4 separate regions of the Homo sapiens genome follow, and regions 2, 3 and 4 are each linked to region 1. Evidence: promoter capture Hi-C in 16 types of primary human blood cells and fetal thymus (Javierre and others, 2016). All regions are on one chromosome and are shown on one strand. The core of a region is centred on a gene start or on the middle of the fragment in contact, and the rest is flanking DNA. Distances in the headings are between cores, read along the strand shown. Region 1 holds the start of TRIM6 (tripartite motif containing 6). Region 2 overlaps OR52N2 (olfactory receptor family 52 subfamily N member 2). Region 3 holds the start of OR52N4 (olfactory receptor family 52 subfamily N member 4). Region 4 has its middle 5.5 kb from the start of OR56B1.

Evidence for each region. The method cuts DNA at HindIII sites, captures the fragments that hold promoters and counts their contacts. A CHiCAGO score of 5 or more calls a contact.
Region 2: a contact is called between a fragment that was not itself captured here and the fragment with the promoter of TRIM6 in region 1, in 6 of 17 cell types (total CD8 T cells, activated CD4 T cells, total B cells and 3 more). The highest score is 6.7, in total CD8 T cells.
Region 3: a contact is called between the fragment with the promoter of OR52N4 here and the fragment with the promoter of TRIM6 in region 1, in 12 of 17 cell types (total CD4 T cells, activated CD4 T cells, total CD8 T cells and 9 more). The highest score is 7.9, in total CD4 T cells.
Region 4: a fragment that was not itself captured here is called in contact with the fragment with the promoter of TRIM6 in region 1 in 1 of 17 cell types (activated CD4 T cells); the score reaches 5.2 in activated CD4 T cells.

The regions. Positions count from the first base shown.
Region 1 is chr11:5,595,277-5,598,043 of GRCh38, forward strand. It overlaps TRIM6 (tripartite motif containing 6), which reads left to right and starts at 1,361. Exons shown (of 8, transcript NM_001003818.3): 1 at 1,361-1,638. The coding sequence starts at 1,622. It overlaps TRIM6-TRIM34 (TRIM6-TRIM34 readthrough), which reads left to right and starts at 1,361. Exons shown (of 14, transcript NM_001003819.4): 1 at 1,361-1,638. The coding sequence starts at 1,622. It also overlaps a transcript of TRIM5 not described here. RefSeq lists enhancers at 683-977, 1,132-2,049, 1,296-1,345. The HindIII fragment of the contact is 2,426 bases long and covers 52-2,477 here.
Region 2 is chr11:5,820,929-5,823,695 of GRCh38, forward strand. OR52N2 (olfactory receptor family 52 subfamily N member 2) reads left to right here. Exons shown (of 2, transcript NM_001005174.3): 2 at 1-555. The coding sequence ends at 373. Among named protein-coding and RNA genes, the nearest start is that of OR52N2, 13 kb to the left of the region's middle. The HindIII fragment of the contact is 649 bases long and covers 1,060-1,708 here.
Region 3 is chr11:5,752,782-5,755,548 of GRCh38, forward strand. It overlaps OR52N4 (olfactory receptor family 52 subfamily N member 4), which reads left to right and starts at 1,462. Exons shown (of 2, transcript NM_001005175.5): 1 at 1,462-1,524; 2 at 1,912-2,767. The coding sequence starts at 1,960. The HindIII fragment of the contact is 4,248 bases long and covers 1,389-2,767 here.
Region 4 is chr11:5,729,611-5,732,377 of GRCh38, forward strand. It overlaps a transcript of OR52N4 not described here. Among named protein-coding and RNA genes, the nearest start is that of OR56B1, 5.5 kb to the right of the region's middle. The HindIII fragment of the contact is 5,391 bases long and covers 1-2,767 here.

The DNA of each region.
Region 1 (2,767 bases), core at 111-2,610:
CAGAGTTTCTGTGCTATTGAAACCCTGTAGTTAGAGTTCTGAGGCTCAATAAGCTTTACATGTATTCATCAGACCTAAATAAAAACAAAGATTGTCTTCTAGTTATATAGGTCAAAATTACAGATACACACACACAGCTTTATACATACATACGTGTAATTTTAAACTGATGAATTTTAATGATCGTTTGGCAAAACATGCCATTATGCAAAGGGGCTTTTACTCGTATAACTTTATATGTTTATTTAGACATTTTAATTAATACGTCTATATGGAGTACAGGTGTATTATCAGTGTAATTAAACTCTGATATGATATTAGAAAGCTACAGTACACTGCAGACAATTTACAAGGGTCATCTCTGGCCTGGTGTTCTCAAAGGCCTCCGGATTTGCCGTTCATCAGGTAAGATGAACAGCTTTGCGTTGCTACCTTCAAAAATTCTTTTTTTTTTTTTTTGAGAGAGAGTCTCGCTCTGTCTCCAGGCTGGAGTGCAACCTCCACCTCCCGGGTTCAAGCGATTCTCCTGCCTCAGCCTCCCGAGTAGCTAGGACCACAGGCGCGCCCAGCTAATTTCTGTATTTTTAGTAGAGACAGGGTTTCATCATGTTGGCCGGGATGGTCTCAATCTCCTGACCTCGTTATCCGCCCGCCTCGGCCTCCCAAAGTGCTGGGATTACAGGGGTGAACCACCGCGCCTGGCCTCAGAAACCATCTCCATCTCCCTTACCACCTGAGGGGTCACTGGTGACCACACCCATGGAATCGGCTGGATCTCCTGCGGGGCTGGACAATTTGACCCTCCTCCTCCCCAGGCCCCGCCCCTTCCCCCCTGAGTCTTTCGGCCTGGGTGGAGGACGCGGCTGCTTCAAGTCCTTGGCTCTGATCCAGGCCACAGATTCCAGGTTAGTGAGCAAGTTTATTTTCTGGCCAGCTACCGCTGTCCCCACTTGTCTGGAGAGTTTGACCCGCTCTGCAGGTCGGGTTGGGGGTGGTTCACGGGTGAAAGAAGAATGAGGGAGACTTCTGCATTTTCAAGTGAACTCAAGTTTGGGAAGGGAGCACAGAAGAGGCACCTTTGCAGCTGGGAATAGGCCGTGTAAAGAGAGTTAAACCTCTATTCTACAAGCTGAAGTATGTAGAGGAGGCAGCTCTGGAAACTGCTTTAGGGAATCACTGCAAACCATTTTGTCAGGCGTGGATTCAGAGTCAGCATCCCTTCCCCCCTTCCCCCGTTCTCCCCTTCCCCCCTTCCCCCTTCCCCCTTCCCCCTTCCCCCTTCCCCTCCCCCATCTCCAGCCTGGCCGCTCCAGGAAGTGAGCACCGTTTATCCCCCACCCCAGGCGGCCCGACTCCTCCCAGAAGGAGTTGGGAGATGAGCCTTCCGCAAACTCCTGACCTGTGGGTCCGTCCGTTCAACGGCCAAAGGCTGGCGGAGGAGGGATCCCCTGCCTTTCTCGGAACGGAACGGAGCAGAGTCGTGCGTGGTTGAGTTTAGATAAAAGCCGAGTGAGCGCGCTCTGTTCCTTAAGATTAGTTTAAGGTGCCTTGGATTGCTCTGAAGAGCTTTGACCACCTGATATTGCTTACATCTGGAACTTCTTGGCTTCTCATTCCCCAGATGTGCGGGTCAGAGAGGTATGTCTACCGTTCTGTTGACTGGCTCTTATTGTCACTTCTGGCAGAGGTGACAGGGCAGTGAAAGAGATAAGGTCCTTTCCCTTTCGGAACTCATTATATCTTTATTTCTTTTTCTTTCTCACTGCAAATGACCCCACTGAGGTTAGAGACATTTTAATCAGTCAGTCAATAGAGACAGAAATGTGTGGTTAGGAGCATAGATGCCGCAGCCAGACTGCATGTGTTCAAATCCTGACTCTGACAGACACTGGCTGTGTGCCCGAAGACTGTTAACTTGACTTCTTTGAGCTTTAGTTTCTTCCATCTATAAGATGGACGGAGTAATATGTATATCTTAGAGTTTTGGTGAGGATTGAGTGAGACAGATTTAAACACGTAGGAGGCTGCCTGACACAAATTATGGTCATTATTACTGGCAAACTCCATGCCTAGCTTTAAAAAAATGCACAATCAAAACAATTTTTAAATTATAGGTTTCTGAAATGCAGGGGGTAGAAATTCTTTTGAAGTGGAAATTAAATTTTTTGTTTTGAAACTGATTATGTTCCAATTCAAATATTTATTGAGTCCTGTTAGATAATCAATTGCAGATAATAGGTTAAATATAACCCTACACAAAGATAAAAAAAAATGTTATTCCTAAAGTGCAAGAACTCATGCCCAACTCACTTATAAATGCAACTGCCACCTATTTTATTCCACTTTCACTAGGGCTCCCAGCTGGTGGACGGGCCCGCTCTGTCATTCCTAACTCTGAACCCCCAGCCTACACCAGCCCCAGTATCCCCTGCTGAGTCACTGATTTTTATTCTGAAAGCCATTTTGATATCGATGCAAGCTTCCATTCTAAAAGATGCTTCGTATCTAAATAGCAGGCCATTCTCTGTCCCCCTCCCTCTTCTAGCTGTTTTGCACCCTAAATTGTATCCACCTGGGAAAGAAGGTCCTTTATCTAAGGCAGTGCTTCTGAAGCCTTAATGTGCGTAAGAATCACCTAGAGAACTTTAATATTAAAGTGCAGATTCTGAATCATTCCAGGAAAGACTGAGATTCTGCATAAAGAACTCCAAGTGCTTGCAGTGTTGCTAGTTAGCAGACCTTTTTCAGGCGTCTGGTTCTGATTTAA
Region 2 (2,767 bases), core at 134-2,633, 230 kb after region 1:
TATTTATGGTCTGATGGTTGCTCTCCTGATTGGTGTGTTTGATATCTGCTGTATCTCTGTATCTTACACTATGATTTTGCAGGCTGTTATGAGCCTGTCATCAGCAGATGCTCGTCACAAAGCCTTCAGCACCTGCACATCTCACATGTGTTCCATTGTGATCACCTATGTTGCTGCTTTTTTCACTTTTTTCACTCATCGTTTTGTAGGACACAATATCCCAAACCACATACACATCATCGTGGCCAACCTTTATCTGCTACTGCCTCCTACCATGAACCCAATTGTTTATGGAGTCAAGACCAAGCAGATTCAGGAAGGTGTAATTAAATTTTTACTTGGAGACAAGGTTAGTTTTACCTATGACAAATGAAACATAGAATAGACATATTGTTTCAGGTGGTGAGAAAATAATGGAGACAAAATTTCATAAAAGATGTGAATAAAATGGTATTAAAATCATGACATGTAATTTACCCATGTAACAAACTTGCACGTGTACCTAAAATAAAAATAGAAATAAAAAATCAAAATAAAGACATAAATTTGTAAGTCACCATAATATGTCAATTTTCTGAAGTCTCTGCAAGTTCTTGAATTTGTGTGTGTTGGGAGTGGGGGCAAGGATCTGCCAAAGCAGAGAATGCAAAATAAAGAAGTAATATACCCATTACTTAAAGAGTTGATGCTTTTCCTAAGCGTTTATAGACTCACATGTTTGTGAGACCAGAAAGGTAGTAAAATAAGGACAGCAGACCTGCTGACAATCCCTGCGTTGCGTGTAAGTGGGGAGGCTGTAGAGACATAGAGAAACGTGGGTCCAGTGTTCACTATTTTTCAGTATTTTTTAAAGACAAGCTAGATTTATATGTTCTATGAAATCTCCCCATTTTAATTGTCAGCAAAATATGTGTTAAAATACCCTATAATTCACAGAAGAATGTCCAAGGGTTCTGTTTTTCCCAAGTCATCAGTTTAGGGTCTCCATTTAAAATGGATCTAAATGGGAACAATAGACTCCAGGTTCTTCGAAAGGAGCGGGAAGAATAAACACTGAAAAGCTTTCTGTTGGATACTACATTCACTATCTGGGTGAAAAAATCTACAGAAGCCCAAACTTCAGCATCATGTAATATAACCTTGTAACAAACCTACACATGTACACTCTGAATCTAAAGTAAAAATAAAATAAATAAATAAATTATAAAATGGATCTGAAAATATAATTGTCATGTTATTGACCAAGCAGGCAAACCATTAAGCTATTAGTATATATTATAATTTATTTATTCATTCACTCATCAATTCATTTTTTGAAACACTAATTTAAGCAATATTATTAGTCATATCTTAGATTTATTGAGAGGGAGGCAGATGATACGGTTCCTGGTTTCAAGATACTCAGAATCTGGACTGTAGCCAGGGATGTGTGAGAAGAAATACATATAAAAGAAAGGGGAGAGAGAAAAAATGAATGCAGTGTGAAGGAAATAAAAAGTTTGTAGGAAAGAATTGGGGGAAATATAACATCAGTTTCAGATTCAATTCATCTCAAGTGTTAAGTCCTCTGTCTTTTAATTTCTAGCCACTAGAGTTGGACAGGCTACATAATCTCTCTAAATTTTGACTTCCATATTTTCTTCCAAATGTGAAAAAGAAAATGTATCACAGAGATGTTTCTTCTAATTAAATGCTCTGATGCAAAAAAAGCTTGTAGCACAATCTCTGATGTATACTAACCATTCAATAAATTTTAGTTATTTTTATGAGCTATTAGTTTCAACTCTGATTCATTATGAAAATCATAGTTTGAGGATAAATCTTTCCAGTTGTACAGGCAGTGCACAGTGCAGTATCAGTTTTGTGTGGACAAGCTTTCTTTTCTTTTTTTTTTTTGAGATGGGGTCTCACTCTGTCACTCAGGTTAGGCTGCAGTGGCATCATCTCGGCTCACTGCAACCTCTGCCTTCTGGACTCAAGTGATCCTCCCACCTCAGCCTCCTGAGTAGTTGTGACACAGGCATGCCCCACCATGCCCAGCTAATTTTTTTGTATTTTTGGTAGAAACAGGGTTTCACTATGTTGCTCAGGCTGGTCTTGAACTCCTGAGCTCAGGAGATTCGCCTGCCTTGGCACCCCAAGGTGCTGGGATTACAGGTGTGAGCCACTATGCCCAGCCATGGGCAAGTTTTCACTGAGTTCTCACAAACATACTATCAATGTCAGCCAACAAGTTTTTCTGGGTACAATCATGTGCCTGACTCCATGTGCCTACTCCACGCTGAGAAATGTAAATGAAAACAAAAACACTAGCTAATTCCTTGTCTAGTAGAGGATATAAAATGCAATGGAATCATTATAAAATGATAACAAGGTAATTGTACATCACAGATGTTCACAAAACTCATGAATCCTGAGAGCATGATCATCAATATCTATTGGAGGTAGTGAGTAAAGATTTTACAGGGAAAATAGTATATAGGGTCAATCTCGAATTATATGTATAAGTGTCCTACAAGGAAAAGCAGATGGAAATTATTTGGAAAAAAATAAACAACCTAGCTCTAATATTAAGGCTGAACAAAGAATAGCAAGTTTAGGTTCACAAAGGTTTTTGTATATTCAGAGGTAAAAGAGAAAGGGTGAGGAGTAAAAAATGTGACTAGAAAGGTAGACAGAGGTCCTATCAGGAAGTGCTTTGTGAGTCTTGTCACAACTTCAGGCATGCCCCACATTGCTCTTCATCTGAGAGATACTAAGTATATTA
Region 3 (2,767 bases), core at 212-2,711, 160 kb after region 1:
TACCACATACTGCCTTTCAGTTATCACTCTCTCTCACTTTTTAAAAAGATTTTTCTATTTCTAATAGCACAGAATAATTTGATCCGTTTTTGTATTTCATTTAAAGATCACAAGATGTTACATCTATTTTAAGTCTTTCTAAAAAAAATTAACACATATTGTGAGATTCGTCTATATTATGCATATAGTCATAGATTGTTTATTCTTATTGTTACGTGGTATTTCATTGTGGGAATGTACCAAAATTTATTTACCCATTTGATGTTGATGAACATTTAGGTTTTTTCCAGTTTTAGGCTATACTACAAATCATGTTTCAATAAGCATTCTAATTGATGTATTCTAGTAAATATATATACATAGTTTTGTTGGAAATGGCAATGGTGGTCATGTGTATGTTTATCATTATGAGATATCTAATAAAGAGTTGTTCTAATTTACATGTCTACCAGCAGTAAATGAGAGTTCCAGTTGTTCTACATCTTTGCCAATGCTTGGTATTTTTAGTTCTTTTCATTTTAGCTGTCCTGTTTGGTATGTCACTACATACCAAAAAAAGGTGCTTTGTCATGAGAGATACAATTTTTACTTATTTTTCTGATTAATATAAAAGTTTGTGCCTATTTACCTGTTCATTGGCAATTTTATTTCTCTTTTGAAGTGTATGTTTCTTCCTGCAACTTTTTCTTACTGATGTTGTTGAAGTACTTTATATATTTTCTGTATGTATGCATTTGGATATCTTCTAGTTTGCGTTGACTAGATACATAAAGAACAAGAAAGATATCTTGAAAAGTGAAAAAATTGAATCAAAACTTCATTGACTTTTTTAATTTTAAATTTTTGTGGGCACATAGTAGGTGTATATATTTATGGGTGTATGAGATATTTTGATAGAAGCATACAATGTGTAATAATCCCTTTTAAAGGGCCGGGCACAGTGGCTCATGCCTGTAATCCCAGCACTTTGGGAGCCTGATGTGGGTGGATTACCTGAGGTCAGGAGTTGGAGACCAACCTGACCAATATAGTGAAACCCCATCTCTGCTAAAAATACAAAAATTAGCTGGGCGTGGTGGCATGTGCCTGTAGTCGCAGCTACTCGGGAGGCTAAGACAGGAGAATTGCTTGAATCCGGGAGGTGGAGGTTGCAGCCAAGATTGCGCCACTGCACTCCAGCCTGGGCAACAAAGCAAGACTCTGCCTCAAAAAAAAAAAAAAAAAAAAAAAAAAATCCCAGTAAAGTAAATAGGGGTATCCATCATCTCAAACATTTATCCTTTGTGTTACAGACAACCCAATTATATTATTTTAGTTATTTTAAAATATACAATTAAATTATTATTGAGTATAGACACCCAATAAATTTACTAATTTTTGAGACCCCAAGCTTCATTGAGTAATAATTTAATTAAAATTTCAAAATTCTTTGAACAGTGCCTGAGTACCCAAGAATAAATATCAGTCAGTCATTAAGAATAAAAATTAAAAAGTCAACATCTCATCTCTCAGATCATCAGTGAGGTAATCAAATGACTCTTCTTTAAAATTATATCTATATTGAGATGAGTATAGTTATAGTTAAGTAAGATATTCTAATAAAAATACCATTTGAAAAGTCAGAATTATACTTGATTATAAATCTATGAGATTGGGAATATGTCTTTTTATAAAATAATTGATGTTTGATTGGCATCTGTGTTGAAAACTTAGACTGCTCAATAAGAATTTTTTACTGAATCAATTAATTAATCAATCAATAAAACTAAACAGACAAACAAAATTATTTCTTGGCACTCAGAAATTTGGTTGTTGGACCATTAAAATGCATTATGGAATTTTTAAAAGTTGGGGGAGAGGGAGACAGTAAAAATAACCTATATTTTCTCTTGTTTTTTTTTTTAACTCTAGGAAAGCCCAGACAAATTTTGAGCTATTTCATAACCTACCAGACTTATCATGCTAACACTGAATAAAACAGACCTAATACCAGCTTCATTTATTCTGAATGGAGTCCCAGGACTGGAAGACACACAACTCTGGATTTCCTTCCCATTCTGCTCTATGTATGTTGTGGCTATGGTAGGGAATTGTGGACTCCTCTACCTCATTCACTATGAGGATGCCCTGCACAAACCCATGTACTACTTCTTGGCCATGCTTTCCTTTACTGACCTTGTTATGTGCTCTAGTACAATCCCTAAAGCCCTCTGCATCTTCTGGTTTCATCTCAAGGACATTGGATTTGATGAATGCCTTGTCCAGATGTTCTTCACCCACACCTTCACAGGGATGGAGTCTGGGGTGCTTATGCTTATGGCCCTGGATCGCTATGTGGCCATCTGCTACCCCTTACGCTATTCAACTATCCTCACCAATCCTGTAATTGCAAAGGTTGGGACTGCCACCTTCCTGAGAGGGGTATTACTCATTATTCCCTTTACTTTCCTCACCAAGCTCCTGCCCTACTGCAGAGGCAATATACTTCCCCATACCTACTGTGACCACATGTCTGTAGCCAAATTGTCCTGTGGTAATGTCAAGGTCAATGCCATCTATGGTCTGATGGTTGCCCTCCTGATTTGGGGCTTTGACATACTGTGTATCACCAACTCCTATACCATGATTCTCCGGGCAGTGGTCAGCCTCTCCTCAGCAGATGCTCGGCAGAAGGCCTTTAATACCTGCACTGCCCACATTTGTGCCATTGTTTTCTCCTATACTCCAGCTTTCTTCTCCTTCTTTTCCCACCGCTTTGGGGAACACA
Region 4 (2,767 bases), core at 201-2,700, 130 kb after region 1:
CAATATACTTATAAGCACTGCTTGTTCATAACTTCTCACTTTAATGTGAATCTCAATGCTAGATGTCTATGTGTTCACCTTTTATGATTTACAATAATAAGTTTATATCATGATCAACCCCTTATACACCTCCGGCCACTCATGTTTGTAATATTACATTGATTTCAATTCCATAAAAAATGAAATGACAAGGAATAAACTGTCTCCAATTATAATCCTCATATAAACTTTTGATGTGTATAGCCATTATTTCCTCCTTTCTTGCTATATTTATTTATTGCCAATTTCTTTTTCCTCTCAAGAAAGCCTCTTATAATATGCCTTTGGGATCCCAGACTATCAGTTACTTCTTGGATGTCTCCTGTTTATAACCCATTTGAATTTACTGGCACATTTGCCCCATAGAAAAATTTCTCATAACCTTAGTGATTTTTTTTAAATGAAAGTTCATGAAAAATATTTTTGGAACTAATTATTGCTGCATTCTTATGTCCTATTCTTTTCTTATATTACAATCTAACTTCAACCAGAAGTTGATGTTTCCAGAGAAATACCTGTCATCAAAGCCAGCAGTAACCATTTTTTTTTTTTTTTTTTTTGAGATGGAGTCTCACTCTGGTGCCCAGGATGGAGTGCAGTGGCACAATCTCAGCTCACTACCAGCTCTGCCTCCCGGGTTCATGCCATTCTCCTGCCTCAGCCTCCTGAGTAGCTGGGACTACAGGTGCCCGCCACCATGCCTGGCTAATTTTTTGTATTTTTTGTAGAGATGGGGTTTCACTGTGTTAGCCAGGATGGTCTCGATCTTCTGACCTCGTGATCCGCCCGCCTCAGCCTCCCAAAGTGCTGGGATTACAGGCGTGAGCCACCACGCCCGGCCAGCAGTAACCATTTTTAACAGAACTACCTTAAATTGTGTTATATTATGACTTACTTCTCCAAAATCTATCCACTGTGATTTCTATGATCCCACACAATCCCAGCTTTTCTTTCATGTCTCTAATGTTTTTCATCCTCTTCCCCTTATTTTATTTTTAATGAACCTGACTTTTAAATGTTGGTGTTTCTCAGAGATCCATCTTTGGCTAACTTCTCACTCATTCCAATCTAAGTCCATAGCAATGGGGACCATGAAAGGAAGAGCTGAAAATCCAGAACAGTGTCAAGGCAGAGGGCTTCCTGCAGGAGACAGCAACTAGATGTCTATGCAGAAAACACTGTGCTCTTCATTGCATTAGGAAACTTCTCTTGCCTTTTTGTTTCTTTCAATTATGACCGATGGTGTGCTTAACTAATTCCTTCCCACTGTCATTATTTCTTGCTTCTGATGATATCATCTTGAACTCACCTTGACTATAAGCAGACTTCAAATTATATTAGTATTTGGAATCTGTTCCTTGTAAGAGTAAGCAATGTAGGATGGTCAAAAGGTACAGCCTCATCCCTTCCATTCGTGTATACTGTTCAGTTAATAGAGAATTTAGTCATAGTGTCTAATTTGAAGAGCAATGAAAACTAAAAACTTTCAGGAAGAATCATTTTCTAAGTGAGCACTGGACTAATGGACTCACATATTTGGCAGATTATGAAAAGGACATTGAGGAATTACTGCTCTATTACTTCATATTCTGCAGTCTAAGCGCTCTAAGTTGCTGAGGGTCGGATAAGTTCCTACATCTTATCCACTTCTCATTCATTGTAAATGAGCTTCTTTAAGCATTTTGTATGTTCAAGAAGTTTACTGGAAGAAAGCAGAGAAACCAGCAGGGGAGGCAAGAATTGTGATAATATCGAATTATTATTTGATGTAATACAGTAAAGGGTTTTCTGGCACCTCCAGAATTGTTGTGTACGTCTCAGAATTGTAAGCCTTTTCTCTACATTAAAAATAAGTTTCTCATTAATCTGCAGCTTCCTTCCTGTTCTTGGTCCAAACATTTCCCTAAAACATTACCAAATGGTAGCTCTTAATTTCCTCTAACTAAACATAACAAATGTATTATATCACACCTACCTACATAGGCAAACATTTAACCACATTTTCTAAGGTTAATTGACAGGTACCATTCTTCCAATTTGAGGTAGGTCCCTGCCATGTGAGCCATGGAAAGTGGCTCTCATCACCCCTCCTTTTTTCAGCAACCATATGCTCTTATTTATCCAATTCTCTCTGACTTATCAACAATCTATTTTTCTCTCTACCAAATAGTTCATACCAACCTCCAAAGATGCATTATTTTTCCCGATTTTAAAACAAGAAATGCTTTTTAAAATTTAATTTTTATTTTTGATGTATATTTTCATTTTTAATTGACTAATATATATAAGGGATGCAATGTGATATTGTGATATATGTATACTTTGTGGAATGATTATATCAGTCTAATTAACATAACTATCACCTCATAAAGTTATTTTTTTTGCAGTAAGAACATTTTACATTTATTCTTTCGCAATTTTGAAACATACCATATATTACTATTGACTGTGGTCACCACGTTGTACAATAGTTCTTGAAAATTTACTCTTCCTGTCTAACTGAACCTTTATACACTTTGGTCAACATCTCCGCATCCCCCAGTTCCCCACCTTTTATCCTTTTCAGCATCTGGTAACCACCATTCTACTTTCTACTACAAATTACTCTAAACCCCAACTTCCAACTCTAAACTTCCAACTTCTGCCCTACATTTTCTTGTTTGTACAAACTTCTTTAAAATGTTATGTGCATAAATTTTTCTATTTCCTAGCCTTTAACTTACTCTTT